Regions from separate parts of the Homo sapiens genome. Here all the other regions are linked to region 1. The links are contacts of gene promoters, found by promoter capture Hi-C in blood cells and fetal thymus (Javierre and others, 2016). All regions are on one chromosome and are shown on one strand. The core of a region is centred on a gene start or on the middle of the fragment in contact, and the rest is flanking DNA. Distances in the headings are between cores, read along the strand shown. Region 1 holds the start of GABPA (GA binding protein transcription factor subunit alpha). Region 2 has its middle 4.8 kb from the start of LTN1. Region 3 overlaps LTN1 (listerin E3 ubiquitin protein ligase 1). Region 4 has its middle 15 kb from the start of HEMK2. Region 5 overlaps HEMK2 (HemK methyltransferase 2, ETF1 glutamine and histone H4 lysine). Region 6 has its middle 34 kb from the start of HEMK2. Region 7 has its middle 150 kb from the start of HEMK2.

Evidence for each region. Contacts are between HindIII fragments. The CHiCAGO score rates a contact against its expected background, and 5 or more counts as called.
Region 2: a fragment that was not itself captured here is called in contact with the fragment with the promoter of GABPA in region 1 in 13 of 17 cell types (non-activated CD4 T cells, total CD4 T cells, total CD8 T cells and 10 more); the score reaches 28.9 in non-activated CD4 T cells.
Region 3: a contact is called between a fragment that was not itself captured here and the fragment with the promoter of GABPA in region 1, in 9 of 17 cell types (total CD4 T cells, non-activated CD4 T cells, naive CD8 T cells and 6 more). The highest score is 16.8, in total CD4 T cells.
Region 4: a fragment that was not itself captured here is called in contact with the fragment with the promoter of GABPA in region 1 in 2 of 17 cell types (non-activated CD4 T cells and naive CD4 T cells); the score reaches 6.1 in non-activated CD4 T cells.
Region 5: a contact is called between a fragment that was not itself captured here and the fragment with the promoter of GABPA in region 1, in 2 of 17 cell types (total CD4 T cells and naive CD8 T cells). The highest score is 5.3, in total CD4 T cells.
Region 6: a contact is called between a fragment that was not itself captured here and the fragment with the promoter of GABPA in region 1, in 2 of 17 cell types (non-activated CD4 T cells and total CD4 T cells). The highest score is 10.6, in non-activated CD4 T cells.
Region 7: a fragment that was not itself captured here is called in contact with the fragment with the promoter of GABPA in region 1 in 1 of 17 cell types (naive CD8 T cells); the score reaches 5.1 in naive CD8 T cells.

What each region holds. Positions count from the first base shown.
Region 1 is chr21:25,733,390-25,736,399 of GRCh38, reverse strand. It overlaps GABPA (GA binding protein transcription factor subunit alpha), which reads right to left and starts at 1,428. Exons shown (of 10, transcript NM_002040.4): 1 at 822-1,428. ATP5PF (ATP synthase peripheral stalk subunit F6) reads left to right here and starts at 1,496. Exons shown (of 4, transcript NM_001003703.2): 1 at 1,496-1,547. RefSeq lists silencers at 435-644, 705-844, 1,785-1,884 and enhancers at 1,345-1,464, 1,485-1,594, 1,021-1,676, 1,995-2,074. The HindIII fragment of the contact is 6,464 bases long and covers 1-3,010 here.
Region 2 is chr21:28,996,212-28,999,221 of GRCh38, reverse strand. It overlaps the pseudogene RPL23P2. Among named protein-coding and RNA genes, the nearest start is that of LTN1, 4.8 kb to the right of the region's middle. The HindIII fragment of the contact is 3,937 bases long and covers 1-3,010 here.
Region 3 is chr21:28,968,828-28,971,837 of GRCh38, reverse strand. It overlaps LTN1 (listerin E3 ubiquitin protein ligase 1), which reads left to right. Exons shown (of 30, transcript NM_015565.3): 7 at 394-567; 8 at 1,096-1,286; 9 at 2,237-2,372. Among named protein-coding and RNA genes, the nearest start is that of LTN1, 23 kb to the left of the region's middle. RefSeq lists a silencer at 2,872-3,010. The HindIII fragment of the contact is 7,647 bases long and covers 1-3,010 here.
Region 4 is chr21:28,898,369-28,901,378 of GRCh38, reverse strand. No RefSeq gene overlaps it. Among named protein-coding and RNA genes, the nearest start is that of HEMK2, 15 kb to the right of the region's middle. The HindIII fragment of the contact is 5,486 bases long and covers 1-3,010 here.
Region 5 is chr21:28,871,916-28,874,925 of GRCh38, reverse strand. It overlaps HEMK2 (HemK methyltransferase 2, ETF1 glutamine and histone H4 lysine), which reads left to right. Exons shown (of 6, transcript NM_013240.6): 6 at 1-2,735. Among named protein-coding and RNA genes, the nearest start is that of HEMK2, 12 kb to the left of the region's middle. The HindIII fragment of the contact is 4,164 bases long and covers 1-3,010 here.
Region 6 is chr21:28,849,695-28,852,704 of GRCh38, reverse strand. It overlaps a transcript of HEMK2 not described here. Among named protein-coding and RNA genes, the nearest start is that of HEMK2, 34 kb to the left of the region's middle. The HindIII fragment of the contact is 1,451 bases long and covers 691-2,141 here.
Region 7 is chr21:28,737,521-28,740,530 of GRCh38, reverse strand. It overlaps a transcript of HEMK2 not described here. Among named protein-coding and RNA genes, the nearest start is that of HEMK2, 150 kb to the left of the region's middle. The HindIII fragment of the contact is 2,967 bases long and covers 1-2,870 here.

The DNA.
Region 1 (3,010 bases), core at 179-2,678:
CTACCGAAGAATGTTATCACCGCCTCGTTCTACAATTCGCTCAAGTGAATCCTGCTAAATCTTTGCTCTTCTCACGAGTCAGACCTACTGCTATTAGTGGAAACTACTTATGAAATGAATTTTATTTCTAAATTTCTAATCATCTTGCAATGCAATATTAGGCATTGTCCTCTCGGTCCGCTAACCTGATCAAACTGGGGTCCCTAAATCCAAACACGCACATACAGCGTGTCTTCTAGTACACAAAAAAATTTCCAAGTAGACAACCCATTGTTATCTCCTTGGTTTACTTCCTTGCTTAAAAACAAAAAAACAAACCCAGATGGCTACCATATACGCTGATAAATGATTCTGGTGTGTGTTGTTCTATAAAGAGAGCGGATTTGAAATGAGTGAATCGCTGAGTCCCGCGATGAGACAGGGTCTGCATTTTGCTCTTAAAATCTCGGGGGCGTCAGGACCACATCCCAGCTGAGCAGGCTGAGACTGCTGAGGAGTGCGGACGGGCGAGGAGGGGACGCGGAAAGGAGGGAGCGGCGACAGGCGACCCGTCCGGCACGGGTCCCGGCGGTGCCCGGTCCCCCCGGGCTCCAGGCCGCTCGCCCCCCGCCCCTCCCCTTCGCTCCCCGCACAGCTCTCCCGCCCCTCCCCACCCGGCTCCCTCAAGTCTCCACGAACGGAAATGGGAGTCACAGCGCCGGGGACCAGCGGAAACAAAACACAGAGGCGGCCGCGGGGGGGCCCTTGTGGGGGAAAAGGCCCCGGAACGAGGCCGGCCCGCGAGGGCCCGCGCTCCCCTCCTCCCCGGCGGCCGCACTCACCCACTCCGGAATCGGCCCTGTCGCCCCCGCCCGCACTCCAGAGCCGGCTGAGAACGGCAGCGGCGAGGGCTCCACGTGCAGCGTCTCTCCGGGTAAGACCTGCAGCTCCCGCGACTAGAAGTGTGAGGTCCCAGGGCCCTTCCCGCGGAATCGGCGCTGAGAAGCCCCAACCCCCCTCCCGCCTCCCAGGCACCTTCGGGTCCAGGACTACAACTCCCGGCAGGGTGCGCAAAACGACCGCCCAAGGCAACGGAGGCTCACGAGGTACAAGGAAGCACAACGCCCCAATCCGCTTTGTTTTACACAGTCTCACTTTCCCTGCACCTTTATACACTTCGATAACCCTAACGAACAGGACGCTGACTCGGAGGGGAGCTTGAACTAGGGGAAAGGCCACTCAAAGAGCGCATGCGTACAGAGCAAGGTTTCAAGGAGGGGAAAAAGAACGGGTCAAATTAGGCGAAGAAAAGATGGCGGAGGCTGTGCCAGGGGACCCGGAAGCACTTACCCTCCACTTCCTCCTCCTGTTTGGCTTCTGTCTCACCTAGACCCGTCCGGTCGCAGACTGTCTCCGAGACGCTTCCTGTCCGGTGAGCGTCGACCGACTGAAACGGCGGCCCATAATGCATTGCGATGGCGGGTAGGCGTGTGGGGGCGGAGCCAGGGCCGGAAGTAGAGCGGAGGTGGTGGCGGCGGAGGCTTTGGCAGCTCGGGACTGAGTGCAAGGTGACTGGGAGGGTAGCTAGATCAGCGTGGCCTTTTGGGACTCCAGTTCTGGGTTTTTTCACGAGGCCTGGGCTGCCTCTCACCTTTACTAGGAGGAGAGAGCAGCTCTGTGTCCTGGGGACCTTCACGGCCTGGCCCGGGGTCACAGCTGACCTCTACGTTTGTAGACCTTGGAGTTTGCCGTAGACCCAGAAATAAGATCGATACCCTCTCTGAGGGCAAATCGGGGCGGCGCGGGGGGCAGGGAGGCCCGGGGGTCTCGGGCCCGCAGCCTGGCTGGGGCAACCCAAGGTCAGGCGCGCGGGAGAGATTTTCGGCCAGGCCTACCCGCCCCGGGCGCACGGGAGCGTCTAGGCTACTTAGGCAGAACGTGTACCATTAAGAGGGAAAAAATTAGTCATAATATTGAAAGTTTGCATCCCACCTAAAAACGATGGTGCTAACACTTCATTAGGCGACTTTATGGATTGTTCATAGGAATATGCACTGAAGAGGCAGCGAACCTACTAACCTTTGGCCGGTCAGTCATCACTATAAATAGAACCATGCTCCCACCCAGAACAAGGCCTCTGCTCAGACTAGTGTTTTCTTACTGTTGCCTTCCCCAGTCTTTCTGATCATGTCAGACGCTATCATATGCTCTCGTGGCACCCGATGGTACTGGAATAGAGAATTTATGTCAGGTGGTATTTCACAGCTATTTGTGTAATGACTATCTTCTGCGTTTTAGTGGACAATATGCATTCACTAATCAGTGAAAAAAAATGAAAGGGATTAAAGGAGAAGGAACAAGTTTTGATATGGGATTATGTGTTCGTTTTTTGGATGAGTTCGTAGGACTTATAAGGGAGATGAGAACTGTTGAATGCTGTGGATAGATTTGGGGCTCAGGATGAATACTAAAATTAGAAATGCGATTGGGGAATCATAGGCACTTACATGGTGGATAATTGAAACAATGAAAGTGGATTTTACCCGTGTTGCAGAAGGAGTAACATCTATGCAGTCAGACTTAGAGCAAATTAACTGTGAGAATACGTGCAGCTTAATCTTTCTTAGATACAGTTTTATCATCTGTAAAGCAGGGATAAGAACACTTTAACTCTTTGAGAGTATTGCTGTAAGGGTACAAGGAAAGGATATATATGGAAGTACTTTGCACAGTATCTAGGGCTAAGCAAATGTCGGGTGAACCTATTGCTGAATGTTAAGCATGTCCTTAGTTTGCCAGAAGGGAAAGTGGCATTGAATTGCACAATTTTTTTTTTTGCATATATGTGTTAAGTTAGATTTTGCTGTGTAACTTTGACCAGATACTTTTTTTTTGAGACAGAGTCTCGCTCTGTCGCCCAGGCTGGATTGCAGTGGCACGATCTCTGCTCACTCCAAGCTCCACTTTCCAGGTTTACGCCCTTCTGCCTCAGCCTCCGGAGTAGCTGGGACTACAGGTGCCCGCCACCACG
Region 2 (3,010 bases), core at 137-2,636, 3.3 Mb before region 1:
GGTAAGAGGACAGATGTCAGAAGGTGTATTCTGTTGACAGCAGCCCAAAAACAATGATTTATTGTTTTAAGGAAAGTGGAAGCAAAGAAGATCCTATTCTTATCTGCAGACCCCTGAGGTAGGTAGGATTTTAGACAATAAACAGCACTCATGAGAGGCTGCTATGGAAGCACTGTCATTAGCCAAACTGTAAACACGTGTTGAGGGTGAATATTGGCTCATCACCGAAGCTGCAATTCCAAAGAATATGTGGGAAGAAAGGGCTTTGTAGGGCACATAGGAGTAGGGGTTAGACCAGCAAGAAAGGACACAGTTTTTTTTTGTTTGTTTGTTTTTTTGAGAGGGAGTCTCGCTCTGTCGCCCAGGCTGGAGTGCAGTGGTGCGATCTCGGCTCACTGCAAGCTCCACCTCCCGGGTTCACACCATTCTTCTGCCTCAGCCTCCGGAGTAGCTGGGACTACAGGCGTCCACCACCACGCCCGGCTAATTTTTTGTATTTTTAGTAGAGACGGGGTTTCACCGTGTTAGCCAGGATGGTCTTGATCTCCTGACCTCGTGATCCACCCGCCTCGGCCTCCCAAAGTGCTGGGATTACAGGCATGAGCCACCGTGGAAAGGACACAGTTTTATGTGGTAAGGAAATAATATATACATGTGTCTGTATCTCCTTCCTGCCTTCTTGACTTCCTGAGTCCAGACTCAGTATTACAGTTTCCTTCTAGATTCCGGAAGTCTGTTTTTCATCAGTTTTAATTTTAGTTGTGTTGTTTTTGTCGTCTTCAATGTTTTCATCAATTTTTTTGTGTGTATGTGAATTTGAGAGGGGCTGCTAGCAGATGCTATTTTGAACTGGAAATTCACCTATATATTCCTCTAGTACTATTATGGTTATTTTCTTTTCTTTTAAATCCCTCTGATATAGTTTGGACATTTGTCCCCACCCCAATCTCATGTTGAATTGTGATGAGTTACAGCTGGTATATACTGAAATTATTCTTATTGTACATTTATTTTGTAGTGTTAGCAAACTATTATATCTTATTTTCTCAATTGACTCTCTACAGATCTCAGTTGACAAACAAATGCTCTGCTGGCATATATTACCTATGTAGTGTTGCTGCTATTTAAATAAGAAGTTTGCTTAAAAAGAATTTAAAAATACTTTTTTCCTTCTTTCCAGCGTTCAAGATGTCAAAGCGAGGACGTGGTAGGTCCTCTGGTGTGAAATTCTGGATTTCCTTGGGTCTTCCAGTAGGAGCTGTGATCAACTGCTGACAACACAGGAGCCAAAAACCTGTATATCATCTCCGTGAAGGGGATCAAGGGACAGCGGAACAGACTTTCTGCTGCTAGTGTGGGTGACATGGTGATGGCCACAGTCAAGAAGGGCAAACCAGAGCTCAGAAAAATGGTACATCCAGCAGCGGTCATTAGACAACCAAAGTCATACCGGAGAAAAGATGGTGTGTTTCTTTATTCCGAAGATAATGCAGGGGTCATAGTGAATAATAAAGGCAAAATGAAAGGTTCTGCCATTATAGGACCAGTAGCAAAGGAGTATGCAGACTTGTGGCCCTGGATTGTGTCCAATGCTCGCAGCATTGCATGATTTTCCAGTAGATTAAAAAGAAAAAGAAAAACTTTAAACCCATTAAAAAGTATTTGTACCCCCCCCCAAAAAAATACATCTTAATAACAGTTGAAGGTAAAGTACCACCAAGTTTAATAAAGATTAATTAATGCTGAGTTGTTTTGTTTTGTTTTGAGACGGAGTCTCGCTCTGTTGCCCAGGCTAGAGTGCAGTGGCACGATCTCGGCTCACTGCAAGGTCTGCCTCCTGGGTTCATGCCATTCTCCTGCCTCAGTCTCCCAAGTAGCTGGGACTACAGGCGCCCACTACCATGTCCAGCTAATTTTTTGTATTTTTAGTAGAGATGGGGTTTCACCATGTTAGCCAGGATGGTCTAGATCTCCTGACCTCATGATTCACCCGCCTCGGCCTCCCAAAGTGCTGGGATTACAGGTGTGAGCCACCTGGCCCAGCCGAAATATATTTTTAAGTGCTTGATGTCTGATTTTCCTCCTCAGAAACTTGTCTGGATGGGTAAGATTATTTTAACATCAGACTTCTGTAAGGCATGCCCAATATTTACTTAGGGAAAAAAGGCTATAATTCTGATGTGTAACTCTTAATCTGTGAAAACAAGAATTTATAATATTAATAATTATGAATGAAGAAGGGAGGGTTTCAAGTCTCTTTTTTTTTTTTTTTTTAACTCCCAACCTGGTTTCTGAAGAGTTTCTAATCTTGGCCTTAAAAGTATTGACATTTCTTTTTTCTTTTTTTCTTTTGAGACAGAGTCTTGCTCTGTTGCCCAGGCTGGAGTGCAGTGGTGTGACCTCAGCTCAGTGCAACCTCTGCATCGTGGGTTCAAGTGATTCTCCTGTCTCAGACTCCTGAGTATGTAGGATTACAGGCACGCACCACCACGCCTGGCTAATTTTTGTATTTTTGGTAGAGACAAGTTTTCACCATGTTGGCCAGGCTGGTCTCGAGCTCCTGACTTGAGGTAATCCTCCTGGCTTGGCCTCCCAAAGCATTGGGATTACAGGCGTGAGCCACTGCACCCAGCCGACATTTCTTGACATAAACATTAACATTTTGACAAAAATTAAACATTATTTTTAATGTTCTTCTGTCCAAACCTTTTCTGCCTATCACCTACTGTATTGATAGAAACAATTATTTTCTGATTTCTAAAACCTTGTATGAATCAATTAAAACAAATTTGCGGGTATCTACTTTGGCAGGCACTGTTTAAGAGTACCATGGAGATAGCCTCACCTTCAAAGGATTTACAGACTTGCTGGAAAATCTAAACATGAGAAACTGTTAAATCAATGAGACTATTTTCAAGTTCCCAAAGCAGTAATATCCTACTGACTTCTGGGTAAAAAAATAAACCAGTTATAAGTTGATGTCCTAGGAAAATCGAAGAGAGATCTGTGT
Region 3 (3,010 bases), core at 230-2,729, 3.2 Mb before region 1:
GCATTGTATTATAGAATTTGTGACTGATCATTCTAAGATTTAAAGTCTCAGATCTTTTATTTCTCCTGATTGTTGCTCATGGTGTCTTATTTTCTGTTTGTTTGGCTATAATGGAGGCCCCAAATGAAGGCTTCTGCTACTAAAGAGGATTTGTGTTTGCTTCAGTCAAAGAAAGAGAAAGTTGAATTAATTCTTTCAGCCTTCACTTTTGCCTTGGTAATTCCTTATGCCTTTTCAGCCATTTCATACTCTAAGATTTTAAAAAGTATTTTTTCTAGCTATTTTAGTTTTCTTAGTGGGAGGGTTAGTGTGAATAATCTACTATTACCATAAATTAAAAATCTTATCAAGTTTTACTAGGTTTTAATTTAATTCAGCTTTGCATTCTTTTAGATTCGCTCAGCTTATTTTGAGTTAGTCTCTGCATTGTGCCAGCGCATTCCACAGTTGATGAAAGAGGAAGCATCCAAAGTGAGCCCATCAGTTCTACTTAGCATTGATGACAGTGACCCAATTGTCTGCCCAGCTCTCTGGGAAGCTGTACTCTATACACTTACAACTATTGAGGTATGTAAGAGAGGCACATTTAGTACACTGAGGAATGAACCTATGAGATAAGAATATCCAAAACTTACTGGGAAAATGCTTTCTTGGAAATAAAATAATCTAAACTTGGCATAAATCTTAAAGTGACTAAAATGGCATAGAGTTTTTATTTTATTTTGTTTTGCCAGTATTAATTATTCTTTAAACCTTATGTGTCCTAGTGCAGTCACCATAACTGAATTTTATATTTAAGATGAAATATAATTAAGATTGAAATATAATTGTCCCTTTTAGAAAGCAGCTTTTATAGAAATAGAAGTTAAATAATTATTTCTAATCAATACTTTATTGTAAGCATGTCGAATATATGATCATTATATGTAATACATTTATAATTTCAGTTTTAGTTTTTAATGGTGGTGAAAGATTTTAGCTTTTTTTAGGTAAAATACTTGGTTTTTCTTTTTGAGAGCCTATATGTTTTCTCTTTTAATTGAGAAAAGTATGTTTATGATCTCTAATTACTACTATAATCTTTTGTTTGGTTAGGACTGTTGGCTTCATGTAAATGCAAAAAAGAGTGTGTTTCCCAAGCTATCAACTGTGATTCGTGAAGGTGGTCGGGGTCTAGCTACTGTCATATATCCTTACCTTCTGCCATTCATCAGCAAGCTCCCTCAGTCCATCACAAATCCAAAGTTGGATTTCTTCAAAAATTTCCTCACGTCTCTAGTTGCTGGGTAAGTAATTTAAATTTTTGATTTTTAAAACAAAACAGATTTTCTTGTTTTTATACTCATTTTCTTTCTTACTTAAATTTCTCCAAGTTGTTTTACTATTCATTAAATACTTTTAAAGTTTTCAGAGAATTACAATTGATATTTTTTTCTTGAGTACGTTCAAGACTTCAGTGGTAGCACACAGCAGGAAGTTAGATAAATAAGGTAAAGCTCCTTGTTGGAAATAGGTCAACTAGGCTATTTTTCAAATTAGCCATTTTTTTAACAGCAGAATGTGCTAACCAATTGCACCACAGACACATGTAGCCATTTTTTATTTTTTATGTTGATAAATACAAATGCCTAAATGCAGAAAATTAGCCAGTGAAATTTTTAAAACATCAACAACTTTAACTACTATAGATGTTTAAATTCACACTTAAAAAAACTGTTTCAGTACATTTGTTGAACTTAGAAGATACATCATTTTATTAATGATTACAGATTTTTTTTACTACACCATTATCTTTATTTGGTTAATAAGTTATCTCGAATTTGCAGGTGGATTGGTCCATGAATAGAAAATTAATATCTCGGCTAGGCGTGGTGCCTCACAGCTGTAATCCTAGCACAGGCCAAAGTGGGAGGATTGCTTGAGGCCAGGAGTTCAAGACCAGCCTGGTCAAGATAGTAAGACCCTATTTCTAAAAAAAAAGAAGAAAAAGAAAAAGGAAATATTCTCTTATTTTTATTTTTTACTGATACATTTTTTGAAAAACTTTTTCAAAGTTTTTAAGTTCATATTCTCATTGGGCTATATGTATTTTCATTGGTATTTAATTTGTAGTTTAAGAAACTGCTTTAAAAATGTTTCTTCTGTCATGATGCCTTTTTGAGGTCTTTATTTTGATAATTCTGAGTTCTTGTTTCTTCTTCATGAAAGAGTAATCCAGTTATTAATTATTTCTTAGGCTGTCAACAGAGAGAACTAAAACCAGCTCTTTAGAGTCCTCGGCAGTAATATCTGCTTTTTTTGAATGCTTACGTTTTATAATGCAGCAAAACTTAGGTGAGGAAGAGATTGAACAGATGCTCGTCAATGATCAGGTATCTATAATGTAAAAGTCGTCAGTCTCTTTGCATACTGATTATGTAGGATCAAGCTCATTGTGTCTTGTTGCCATTTACAGTAATAAGCCTTCCTTGTAAAAATTTTATTTTTATAATTTACCAATTGAGTGATGTGTATTTCTGACCAGATAAGTAAAAATTCCATACTCTCAGTTGCTAGCATGGTATGATACCTAAGAAACTAATCAGTGTCTGGATGCAAAAATCCCTTTTTTTTTTGAGACAAAGTTTCGCTCTTTGTTGCCCAGGCTGGAGTACAATGACGCAATCTCAGCTCACTGCAACCTCTGCCTCCCGGGTTCAAGCTATTCTCCTGCCTCAGCCTCCCAAGTAGCTGGGATTACAGGCACCCGCCACCACACCCAGCTAATTTTTGTATTTTTAGTAGAGACGGCGTTTCACCATGTTGGCCAGGCTGGTCGAGAACTGCTGACCTCAGGTGATCTACCCGCCTCGGCTTCACAAAGTGCTGGGATTACAGGTGTGAGCCACCGCGCCCGGCCTGTAAAACCCTGTTTTAGAAAGATGTAGTGCAGGCTGGGCGTCGTGGCTCACGCCTGTAATCCCAGCACTTTGGAAGGCCGAGGTGGGTGGATCACCTGAGGTTGGGGGTT
Region 4 (3,010 bases), core at 193-2,692, 3.2 Mb before region 1:
TAAACATTGCAAAAGTGTGGATCATGTAGGTTAGAATTGAATTGTTTGGTGAAGTTTTTGTACTTTGTGATTTTCTTGTTTGGTTATGTCTGTGTGTATATATACATATATATATATATATTTTTTCTTTTCTTTTCTTTTTTTTCTTGAGACAGAGTCTCGCTCTGTCACTCAGGCTGGAGTGCAGTGGCACGATCTCGGCTCACTGCAAGCTCCGCCTCCCGGGTTCACGCCATTCTCCTGCCTCAGCCTCCCGAGTAGCTGGGACTACAGGCGCCCGCCACCGCGCCCGGCTAATTTTTTGCTTTTTTTTTTTAGTAGAGACGGGGTTTCACCGTGTTGGCTAGGATGGTCTCGATCTGACCTCGTGATCCACCTGCCTCGGCCTCCCAAAGTGCTGGGATTACAGGCGTGAGCCACCACGCCTGGCCTGTTTTTATATTATATTAACATTTGTGTGTAACAAAGCTGACAGTTCAGTGCTGCAATTTTGGAAGGTAAGATGTGAGAAAGAAGAGAGGCATTTTAGGCACAGAGCTACAGACATTTCTGAAAAGGTTGGTGATGAAGAATTTTGGTCTTCTGAGTATACTTCAGTATTCTAGTACAACAAGGGACACAAAGAGATTCTGTCTTTATAATGAAAGCTGCTCCTTAAGGGTTTAATATGGACTCAGTCCAAGCTGTCCTGTCCCACTGTGCATTGTCTGTGGCATGCAACTTACAAAACTAAAAATTGTAACTATAAATCACAGGCACTTGACAAGAAAGGATATTCATTATCTTCAGTTGGCTTTTGGACCATCAAAACAGTACGGCTTCTGTTCAAAAATCACGTTTAGTCAAAATGTTTTGAAAGCAAATTATTTACTAGCAGAACTTATCTCAGGAAAGAAAAATATGCATAGTTGATGAGAATCTAATAACATTAAAATGCTGGGGCAGGATGCAGTACAAAATTGAAAAGACTTTATTCTCAGTAAGTTGATTTACTGATGATATCTCATACGATGCTACAAAGGTTTTGTGTCATTAACTGAAGAGCAGCAACTTCAGGCCGGGTGCAGTGGCTCACGCCTGTAATCCCAGCAATTTGGGAGGCCGAGGCAGGAGGATCACAAGGTCAAGAGATGGAGACCATCCTGGCCAACATGGTGAAACCCTGTCTCTACTAAAAATACAAAAATTAGCTGGGCGTGGTGGCGTGTGCCTGTAGTCGCACCTACTCGGGAGGCTGAGGCAGGAGAACTGCTTGAACCCAGGAGGCGGAGGTTGCAGTGAGCTGAGATACGCCACTGTGCTCCAGCCTGATGACAGAGCAAGACTCCGTCTCAAAAAAAGAGAAAAGCAGCAGCTTCTCTATCCAGGATGATGAGTCAACGGGTTTCACTAATATTTGTCATGCTGTAGCATTTGTAAGATTTGTAAGTGATGAAATTCAAAGAAAACTTTTTCTATTGCTAGGAGCCTGCCAAAACAAAGGCCAATATACAATGTTGTGATATCATATCTGATAACCAGAGGTCTGTTATCTACACTCCTGGTGCCCCATCAGTGGTTGTCTCCATAAGTCATTTTGCATCATTAAAAAAAAGAAGAAAGAAATCCTGATGTTGACGCTATAGCACACTGCTTTCTTCACAGAGATGCTGATATCAAAAACTTGAAGATACAATGACATTCTGAATAATGCTACAAAACTGGTTACCTGTATCAAAGACCCATTTATGCAAAAATGTTAAAAAAATAAAAACACCCAAAACAAAAACCTGGACAAACAGCGCATAAACCTCCTGTACCATACAGATATCCAGTGGCTTTTCAGAGGAAGAGTTCTCTACAGGACTTTTGAGTTGAAAGGTGAATTGCCAGAGTACTTACAAGAAAATAGCCAGCTTTTGCTGAATGCTTTGGAAATGAAAAATAGCTACAGAAACTAGCCGATTTAGCAGACGATTTTCATCACATGAACAAATGAACAAGTCTCTGAAAGGTCCTGGAGAAAATTTTTTTTCTTAAAGTGACAAGAGTCTTAGATCAAAAAGGAAACTGATTTGCTACCTTGCCAGGGGAATTATTGAAATGTTTCTGCAGCCACTTGGACTTGAAAATGAAGAGTACAACTCTCAAATCTTGCTATAACCCACCTGGAGGAACCACAAAACACAATTAAGTAGTATTTTCTCTCCTTTTCCCAGCACTAGTATATGACTGTATGGGGAACCCTTTCTCCAAATCTGCTCAGCTTGAAATTTTGTCTCTGAAGGAAGAGAATGAACTCAGCCCTAGTCTGACAGTCCTACATTTCTGTGAAATAAGAGTATTCTTCAACTTAGTGCTCACACTCACACACCATGAGGGTTCCCTGCAGGGGTTTCCTGAATTTGAAAGTTTTTTCAAGGCCTATTTTTGGGTAAAATAATTGAAAAAGGCAGACACCAACAAAGTCTGCAAAGTAAACCATCCAGATTAAGAATATTAAGGAGCTGTAAAGTTAGCTTGTGGAAATGGGCTTATCCTTAAGTTTTAAAAAGTTAGGAAGTAGTAAAAACGTTAGGCTTCCTGCACAAGTGGCTATGTTTATTTAATGGCTAGTGAACACGGGAACATATTTCTATCCTCTTAGCTAGTGGTTCTGTTTGGTAAACCAGACTAGAATGATTTGAGAGGGGCAAAGAGAATAGGCAGGACCTTCCTTCTATAGCTTTACATATTTAGAATATTAATTCTTAATGGCGTTGAAGTTACCTTGAAAGGATTGATAAGAGGTTTATTAATATTATTTAGGGGAATAGGGAGGATAGAATTTTGGTGCCTTCTTTAGCAGACTTGCTCCAAGACAAAGATTCTTTTATTTTGATAGTGCAAGACAAAAGGACTCGGAAAAGAATTGACCATATGCCTACAGAACATACAATTCTGTGGAACGAAGTTGTTTTTACTTTGTGAAGGCTGCCACTCTACGGAAATATTTTGATTTTATAATTTGCTTTTAATTGCCTTTTATCTC
Region 5 (3,010 bases), core at 300-2,799, 3.1 Mb before region 1:
TCCTCCTGGTGGACACAACTTTGAGCAGTCCCCCTGTTGACTTTGCTTAGAAGGAAAAATAGCCAGATATTCAATTATATGCCAATTCATAGGCCGTGGCCAGTGGTTTGGCTGGATGGTCAGGGAGTTCAATATAACTGGAAAATTGGTGACAAAGAAATTTGGAGATGAAGTATGTGGATAGACACTGAATGGGCAAAAAGGGTGAAGATATTTGTGCCCCATGTGAATGCTCACCAAAGGGTTAGCAAAAAAGGATTTTAATAAAGTGGACAAGATAACCTGTTCTGTGGATACTAGTAGGCCTCTTTCTCCAGCCACACCTGTCATCACCCAATTGTTTCATGAGCAAAGTAGCCATGGTGACAAGAATAGAGGTTATGCATGGGCTCAGCAACGTGGACTTCTACTCACCAAGGCTGACCTGGCCAAGGCTATCTCTGAGTGCCCAGTCTGCCAGCAACAGAGACCAACACTGAGCCCCTGATATGACACCATTCCCCAGGGTCATCAGTCAGTTGCCTAGTGGCAGGTTCATTACATTGATCCACCTCTATCATTGAAGGGATAGTGTTTTATCCTTACTGAAATAGATCTTACTCTGGATACAGATTCACTTTCCCTTCGCGCAGGGTGTCTGCTAAAACTACCATCCGTGGACTTACAGAATGTCTCATCTATGACCATGGTATTCCACACAGCATTACAAGAAACTCAGTTCACAGCAAAAGTGTGGCAGTGGGCCCATGATCATGGAATTTTCTTACCATGTTCCCTACTATCTTGAATCAACTGGCTACATAGAGCAGTGGAATGGCATTTTGAAGACAGTAATAACACCAGCTATATAGCAGTGCCTTGTAGGGCTGGGACAAGGTTCTCTAGAAGACTGTCTATGCTCTGAATCAACATCCAGTATATGGTGCATTTCTCTTATGACTGGGATTCACAGGTCCAGGAATCAAGGGGTCAGAATAGGAAGGACACCATTCGCTATTAGCCCTGGTGACCCACTAGCAAAATTTTTGCTTCCTGTTCCCATGACTTATGCACTGCTGGCCTAGAGGTCTTACATAGGGTGGAATATTTTCCACTGAGAGACGCAATCATGATTTAATTGAACTGGAAGTTTAAGACTGCTCCTCAGCCATTTGGGGCTTCTTATGCCTCTAACTCAATAGACAAATGAGTTACAGTGCTGGCTGGGTGATTGTTCCTGACTACCAAGTAGAAACTGGACTACCCCGAATGGTGGTAAGGTAAAGTATGTTGGGAATACACAGGATTCCTTAGGGCATCTCTTAGTGTTATCATGCCCTGTGATTAAGGTCAATGGAAAACTACAGCCTAATTCAGACAGGACCACTAATGATCCAGACCTTTCAGGAATGAAGGTTTGGGTCACCACCAGGTAAGTACCATGACCAGATGAAGTGCTTGCTGAAGGCAAAGGGAATACAGAATAAATGGTGGAATAAATACTAGCTTTGATCATATGACCAGTTACAGAAACACAGACTGTGATTGTCATAAGTATGTCCTCCATATTTTGCTATAACTACATTTTGTGTGTGTGTAGCTTTGTTTTCTTCTCATTTCCTTATTCTGTAACATAAGATGCATTGATTTTATAGCATAGTGTTTAAATATTGTTAATTTTTTTAACTGGCTCCAGTGTTCAACCTTGATTAATTTTACATCATAGTATTTAAGTTATGGGATATCAAGGAGAGAGTAAACATCACATGAAGACTTTACCACCTCTTCTGGGAAACGGGTTAGAGTGTTTCTGGTGGAATGCTGGATTGTTAATCGTGTTAGATGGAATTATGACCTTGTTGTTGTCTTTATGTGGCAGTTAAGTATGGTTTAAAGAGATGTTTATGGGTGCCAAGTTGACAAGGGTAAACTTGTGATGGTTAATTTTATATGTCAACTTGAATAGGCCACAGGGTGCCAAATATCTGTTTAAACATTATTCTGAAGTGTCTTGAGTGTGTTTACAGACAAGATTTGCATTTGAACTGGGGGACTCAGTAAAGGAGATAGCCATCCCCAAGGTGGGTGGACATCATCCAGTTTGTTGAGGGCGTAAATAAAATAAAAGGCAGAGGAAGGAAGAATTCCCCCCCCTTTTTTTTCCTGCCTCATTGTTTGAGCTGTGACATCTCATCTTCTGTCCTCAGATGGATTTACATCACTGGCTTCCCTGGTTCTCAAGCCTTTGGATTCAGACTGAATTATACCACAGGCCTTCCTGGGTCTCCAGCTTATAGATGACAGATCATGGGACCTCTTAGCCTCCATAATCATGTAAGCCACTTTCTTGTAGTACTGGTAAAAGATATATTAGACCAATCTATAAAACAGCTAGCTATGAAAGAGAAAGGTGACAGGCACAAGCCTAGGCAAATAGAGAAGGGTTCCTGGAGAGCCTCTGACTTGCCTAGGTCATTGTGCACACGTGGCTTGCCTGAATGAACATGCCCACTGTGAAAGATTCCATTTCTCAACACATGTGCAGTAAGGGAAATAAATCAATGTGGCTCAGACTAAGCGCCCACACATGGGGTGGAGCCACGAGGAGTTTGCTCCTTATGCAGGGGAGAAGCCGTGCCTCTTCAGCTCGTGTGTGGTGGCCTGGCATTCAATTTGTGAGGTGTAAAACCTGCATGAAGGACCCCTCTTTTTGTGGAGAGCTTTCCTTTTGCCTAATAAATTCTGCCCTCCTCGCCTTTCAGTGTGTACGCGTGCCTAATTTTTTCTGGTCATGTGATAACCCAAATTTAACTGAACTAAGGAGCAAAAAATCCTGCATCAGCTACATTAATAGCTGATTGTACTAGATTGAGTAGTGTCCCCCCAACAAAATTCGTGTCCAACTGAAACCTGTGAATATGCTCCTATTTGGAATTAGGGACTTTGCAGATGTAATCAAGTTAAGACAAGGTTGTACTTGATTAGGATGGGCCCTAAATCCAATATCTCTTGTGTCCTTGTAAGAACAGGA
Region 6 (3,010 bases), core at 167-2,666, 3.1 Mb before region 1:
TCAATTTCAGTACTTGAACCAGTTTACAGACCTATAACCCCTTGAATGAAGGAGAGGTCGGGTCTTTTTGTGTAAGGACCCCACTACACTACTGACAATTTATGCTGTTAATTCTTTCTCCAATCATTTCCCAAGGACACCTCTAGCTTCTACCAGGGCAACTGTGGATTGGGGAAATGGAAATGATCAGACATTTCAGGGACTACTGGACACTGGCTCTGAGCTGACATTGACTCCAGGGGACACAAAATGTCATTGTCGTTCTCCAGTTAAAGTAGGGGCTTATGGAGGTCAGGTAATTAATGAAGTTTTAGCCCAGGTCTGACTTAAAGTGGGTCCAGTGTGTCCCGGGACTCATCCTGTGGTCACTTCCCCGGTGCCAGAATGCATAATTGGCATAGACATACTTAGCAGCTGGCAGAACCCACACATTGGCTCCCTGACTGATAGGGTGAGGGCTATTATGGTGGAAAAGGTCAAATGGAAGTCATTAGAGCTGCCTCTACCTAGAAAAATAGTAAATCAAAAACAATATCTCATCCCTGGAGGGATTGCAGAGATTAGTGCCACCATCAAGTACTTGAAAGATGCAGGGATGGTGATCGCCACCACATCCCCTTTCAACTCTCCCGTTTGGACTGTACAGAAGACAGATGGATCTTGGACAATGATAGTGGATTATCGTAAGCTTAACTAAGAGGTGACTACAAGTGCAGCTGCTGTACCAGATGTGGTTTCATTGCTTGAGCAAATTAACACATCTCCTGGTACCTGGTATGTACCAGGTACTTGGCAAATAACTTTTTCTCCATTCCTGTCCATAAGGCCAACCAGAAGCAATTTCCCTTCAGCTGGCAAGGCTAGCAGTATACCTTTACTGTCCTACATCAGGGTGTATTAGCTCTCTGACTTTGTGTCATTGTCTTATTTGGAGAGACCTTGATCACTTTTCCCTTCCATAAGATATAACACTGGTCTATTACATTGATGACATTATACTGATTGGATCCAGTGAGTGAGAAGTAGTGAACACACTGGACTTATTGGTGAGACATTTGCATGCCAGAGGATGGAAAATAAATCCAACTAAAATTTAGGGACTTTCTACCTCAGCAAAATTTCTAATGGTTCAGTGATGTGGGGCCTGTCGAGATATTCCTTCTAAGGTAAAAGATAAGTTGCTGCATTTGGCCCCTCCGACAACCAAGAAAAAGGCACAACTCCTAGTGGGCCTATTTGGATTTTGAAGGCAACACATCCCTCATTTAAGTGTGTTACTCTGGCCGATTTATCCAGTGACCTGACAGGCTGCCATTTTTCAGTGGGGTCCAGAACAAGAGAAGGTTCTGCAACAGGTCCAGGCTGCTGTGCAAGCTGTTCTTACACTTGGGCCATATGACCCATCAGATCCAATGGTGCTTGAGGTGTCGGTGGCAGATAGGGATGCCGTTTGGAGCCTTTGGCAGGCCCCTGTAGGTGAAACACAGTGGCAGCCTCTAGGATTTGGAGTAAGGCCCTGCCATCTTCTGCAGATAACTACTCTCCTTTTGAGAAACAGTTCTTGGCCTGTTACTGGGCTTTGGTAGAAACTGAATGTTAGATTATGGGTCATCAAGTCACCATGCGACCTGAACTGCCTATCAAGAACTGGGTGTTTTCTGACCCATCTAGCCATAGGTGGGGTGTGCACAGCATCATTCCGTTATCAGATGGAAGTGGTATATATGCATCTGGGCACAAGTAAGTTACAGGAGGAAGTGGCTCAAATGCCCATGGTCTCCACTCCTGCCACCCTTCCTTCTCTCCCCTTCTCTTCCCCAGCCTGCACTGATAGCTTCTTGGGGAGTTCACTATAATCAATCGATAGAGGAAGAGAAGACAAGGGCCTGGTTAATAAACTCCCCTTAGTAAACTCCCTTTTATATGCACATCTATCCTATTAGTTCTGTCCCTCTAGAGAACCCTGACTAACACAATGGTTTCTGTACTTAAGTGTGTTTTTGTGGTGGCCAGTAATGGTCTTTTGTTCCAATATTTAGCACTCCCTTAAGGACCTTTTGTAAGGCAGGTCTGGTGGTAAGAAATCACCTTAGCATTTGCTTATTTGAAAAAGAGTTTATTTCCCCTTCACTTATGAAGCTTAGTTTGGCTCCATGTAAAATTCTTGGTTGGAATTTCTTTTCCATAAGAATGCTGATCACACCTGTAATCCCAGCACTTTGGGAGGCCGAGGCAGGCGGATCACGAGGTCAGGAGATCGAGACCATCCTGGCTAACACGGTGAAACCCCGTCTCTACTAAAAATACAAAAAATTAGCCGGGCGTGGTGGCGGGCGCCTGTAGTCCCAGCTACTCGGGAGGCTGAGGCAGGAGAATGGCGTGAGCCTGGGAGGTGGAGCTTGCAGTGAGCCGAGATTGCGCCACTGCACTCCAGCCTGGGCGACAGAGAGAGACTCCGTCTCAAAAAAAAAAAAAAAAAAAAAAAAAGAATGCTGAATGTAGGTATTCTGTCTCTTCTGGCTTGTGGGGTTTCTGCTGAAAAGCTGGCTGTTCATCTGACAGGATTTCCTTTGTAGGTGACCTGCCCCTTCTCTGTAGCTGTCTTTAACATTTTTTCTTTCATTTTGACCTTGAGGAATTTGGTGACTACATGTCCTGGAGATCATTGTCTTGCATAGTATCTCACAGGGGTTCTGTGCCTTTCCTTAATTTGAATGTTTCCTCTCTAGTTAGGTTAGGAGAATTTTCATGGATGATATCCTCAAATATGTTTTCCAAGTTGCTTGCTTTCTCTCTTTCTCAGGGATGCCAATGAGTCATAGATTTGGTCCCTTTACATAATCCCATATTTGTTGGAGGTTTTATTCATTCTTCTTTATTATTTCTTTATTTTTGTCTAAGTAATTTTGGAGAACTGGTCTTCAATATCTGAGATTCTTTCATCAGCTTGTTTTATTCTGCTGTCAGTACTTACTATTGTATTATGACATTCTTGAAGTGAGTTTTTCAG
Region 7 (3,010 bases), core at 138-2,637, 3.0 Mb before region 1:
TTTGATATATTTTGCATGGATTAATTCATAAACAATCACTATTGCCCATATGGAAGCTATGATAGCCAACGGACTGTAAAGTAGGCTGAAATCTGCAGTTGGCCCTCAGGTTTTGACCCACTGTCATTTGAATTCCTGCTTTATGTCAGCTCTCATAGGGAATAAGACATTCCAAAGGGTTACCCACACAATAAAGGACTTTGTCTATGTTCATGTGTTTTGGCCAGTTTGAAAATCTTATTGCGTGGTCTGGGCTACACAAATAGACAAAAGTAAATAGAGAAACCTGCTTCATGGAATAGCTTTGGAAACTGTGGTTGCTAAGATATAGATAGGCTTTAAGTAGAGAGAATTTCCATTATAAATATACTAAAAGGATCAGAAAAGTGAATTTACATGAAAAACATACACTGGGTGTTTGGAAAGTGCTTTTTCTATAGACGGTGTGTAAAACGCATATCAAGGGAACTCTTTGGGGGAAGACAAGAATTTACACAAGGTGTTGGGATGAAAAATATTGCTAACTTGTTTTAATTATTGGCTGAAACTTGATGGAAAGAGGAAAAAATCCTCCAGATGATACAAAGTAGACCTTTCTTCTCATGCTCCATAGAGGTCTTTCGGGAAAAATTTCCCATTTCTACTTATGTTTGGAAAACCTTGGGTGTGTATTTTCACTGTGTATTTAACCTTCTTTCCTGGCTTCTAGAACTGTGCTGTCCAATATGGTAGACACTGGCCATGTGTTGCTTTTGAGCACTTAAAATGTGGCTACTGTCGCTGAAAAACAGAATTGTTAATTTTATTGAATTTTAGTTAATTTAAATTTGAATAGGCACCTAGGGCTAATGGCTATAGGGACAGTACAGATAGAGAACATTTCCATCATCACAGAAAGTTCTGTTTAGACAGCACCCTGCTCTGGAGGGTGACCGGACAGTAATTTTTGCTCATAAGACTTGTTTTTAATATTGAAGATTTAGTTTTCTCCCAACTGATGAAGTTTAGGGAAAAATGCCACGAAGATGGCATTCAGATCTTATTAACATTTTCTCACTACTTATTTTTTCCCTCAGTTCTGAGTAATTCTGTCTATTTTTATCTATACCATATTATATTTAGTTCCTTCTAATGTAATTAAACAAAAATATCTTAATTTCAGAAAACACTTCTTTAATTAGTTGTGTTTGAAATGTCCTTACTAATCCTTACTATAATAACTGAATGGCCAATTTCATAGCCTCAGTGGGAAAAACGAAAAAAGAGAAAGACCTGTGTTCTTGATCTGTGCCAAACAGGAAAATACTGTGGTTCAGCAATAGAAAATGAAGAGGGAGGAAATGTTTCAGGTCATCAAATGGGGTCAGAAATACGCATGTCAATGTACTTTTGCTGCTCTCGCGAATTTCTCAAAAGGGTATCTGTGAATACCTAATTTAGGTTTTTTTGGTTTCATTTTAAGTACACATGAGCTTCTGGAAAGGGCGATATTTATATATTTTTTTCACTGTGGTTTACGATCCAGTGTAGGTATATTTCAGGATGTCACTCACAATTTCAATGTGGTCATAGAATTATTCAGAGAAAGCTAATTGAAAGCAAAATGCATTAAAATGACTAGGATTAAGCTGCCCACGGACACCAACTGTCTTGTTTTGTCCCCATTGTAAACACAAGTGCCCCAGAAGTGCATGTGCTGAAGTTGGCCTCTGTTGAATGAATGCATTTAAATGTGGAAGTTTTTGTATTATTATAGGATAAGAAATGTTGCAATTGCAAAAATGTTGGGGACTAGAGCCATCTCTGGGAGGTTTTCCTAGGACGTAAGCTCTGTTGTTTCGGAGTTCAGGGAGTGGGGCAGTGACCTGCATAAAGAGCCCCCAGGGAGAAGGCCCAGGGTCCTGGCTTCTCCGTGGGACTGTTTCCCGGGTCACAGAAAGGGAGACCCAAGTGTCAGAGATGGGCAGATTGAACTGTCCCTGCCGGTGTTTACAAGAGACACTTGACCTTGATGGAAAGCAGAGGGAGGACAGCAAGAGGGAGACGTTCTCTGTGTCCACATCAGCACCCTTTCCCCCTTCCTTGCCCTTTATCTTGTCTCATCCTTACCTTGTTGGAAAAACACATTGGCAACATCACAGCCCACTCAAAAGGTTGCCAACACCTTCTCCCAATAATAGCGATCAACATATGTAATAGACTTCAGCTGTCTTTTTGGGAGATCTGGCAACAAACTTAACTGAAAAAAGTCAGATTTTTACAAAGAAACACTGCTTTATTGCTTAAATGTGGAAATAATACAGAACACCAGCTAAGCTAATAGCTTTCTGAGAAAGAAAGTTCAAAGTGTCCATTGCTACTTCAATAACACATACATAAGTGGAAGGTGACCAAAAAGATGAACATGTAAAGAGGGGCCCTCATGTGTCGGCAAATTGTTGCTATTCTGAGCTCTCCACTTGCAGCAATTATCTAACTGTTGTTGGAAGAAGCTAAGAAACAATCCTCCAGCCCTCCCATAATGCCCTCTCCAAACAAATGAAAACACAGTGCAATTGGCTTTTCAGTGTTTGCTCCCAACCTGCCCCTTCCTGTGTTTCTCCCTGAACATGATTCTTTACTTCGTAGGTCATCCTCTCATCCTTGCATTCTTTGTGTATATTACTGGCTAGCTGCCAATCAGCAATGGACACCTCCCAGAGTTCTGGCAGACCTGGCTTGTGAAGTTAAGCAGGGCTTGGTGAATTTAGCTCACTTAACTGAGATATGAGAGCAGTGAAGTGATGTATGTAGAGAAAGGCACAGTTCTCCAGAGCTCTTGAGAATCCTTAAAATAAATATATGTTCCTTACAAATTTTCATCGTAAGCTTGGTGCACATTTCTAAGGCAGCTGGGGAATCATAGAGCAGCTCATCTTTTCTTCTTCTTTTTTTTTTTAACAGTCTATGGACTAATTAAGCTCTGAAAACCCATTAAAACACAAGTAGGCCATGATTTCAACACTTCTAA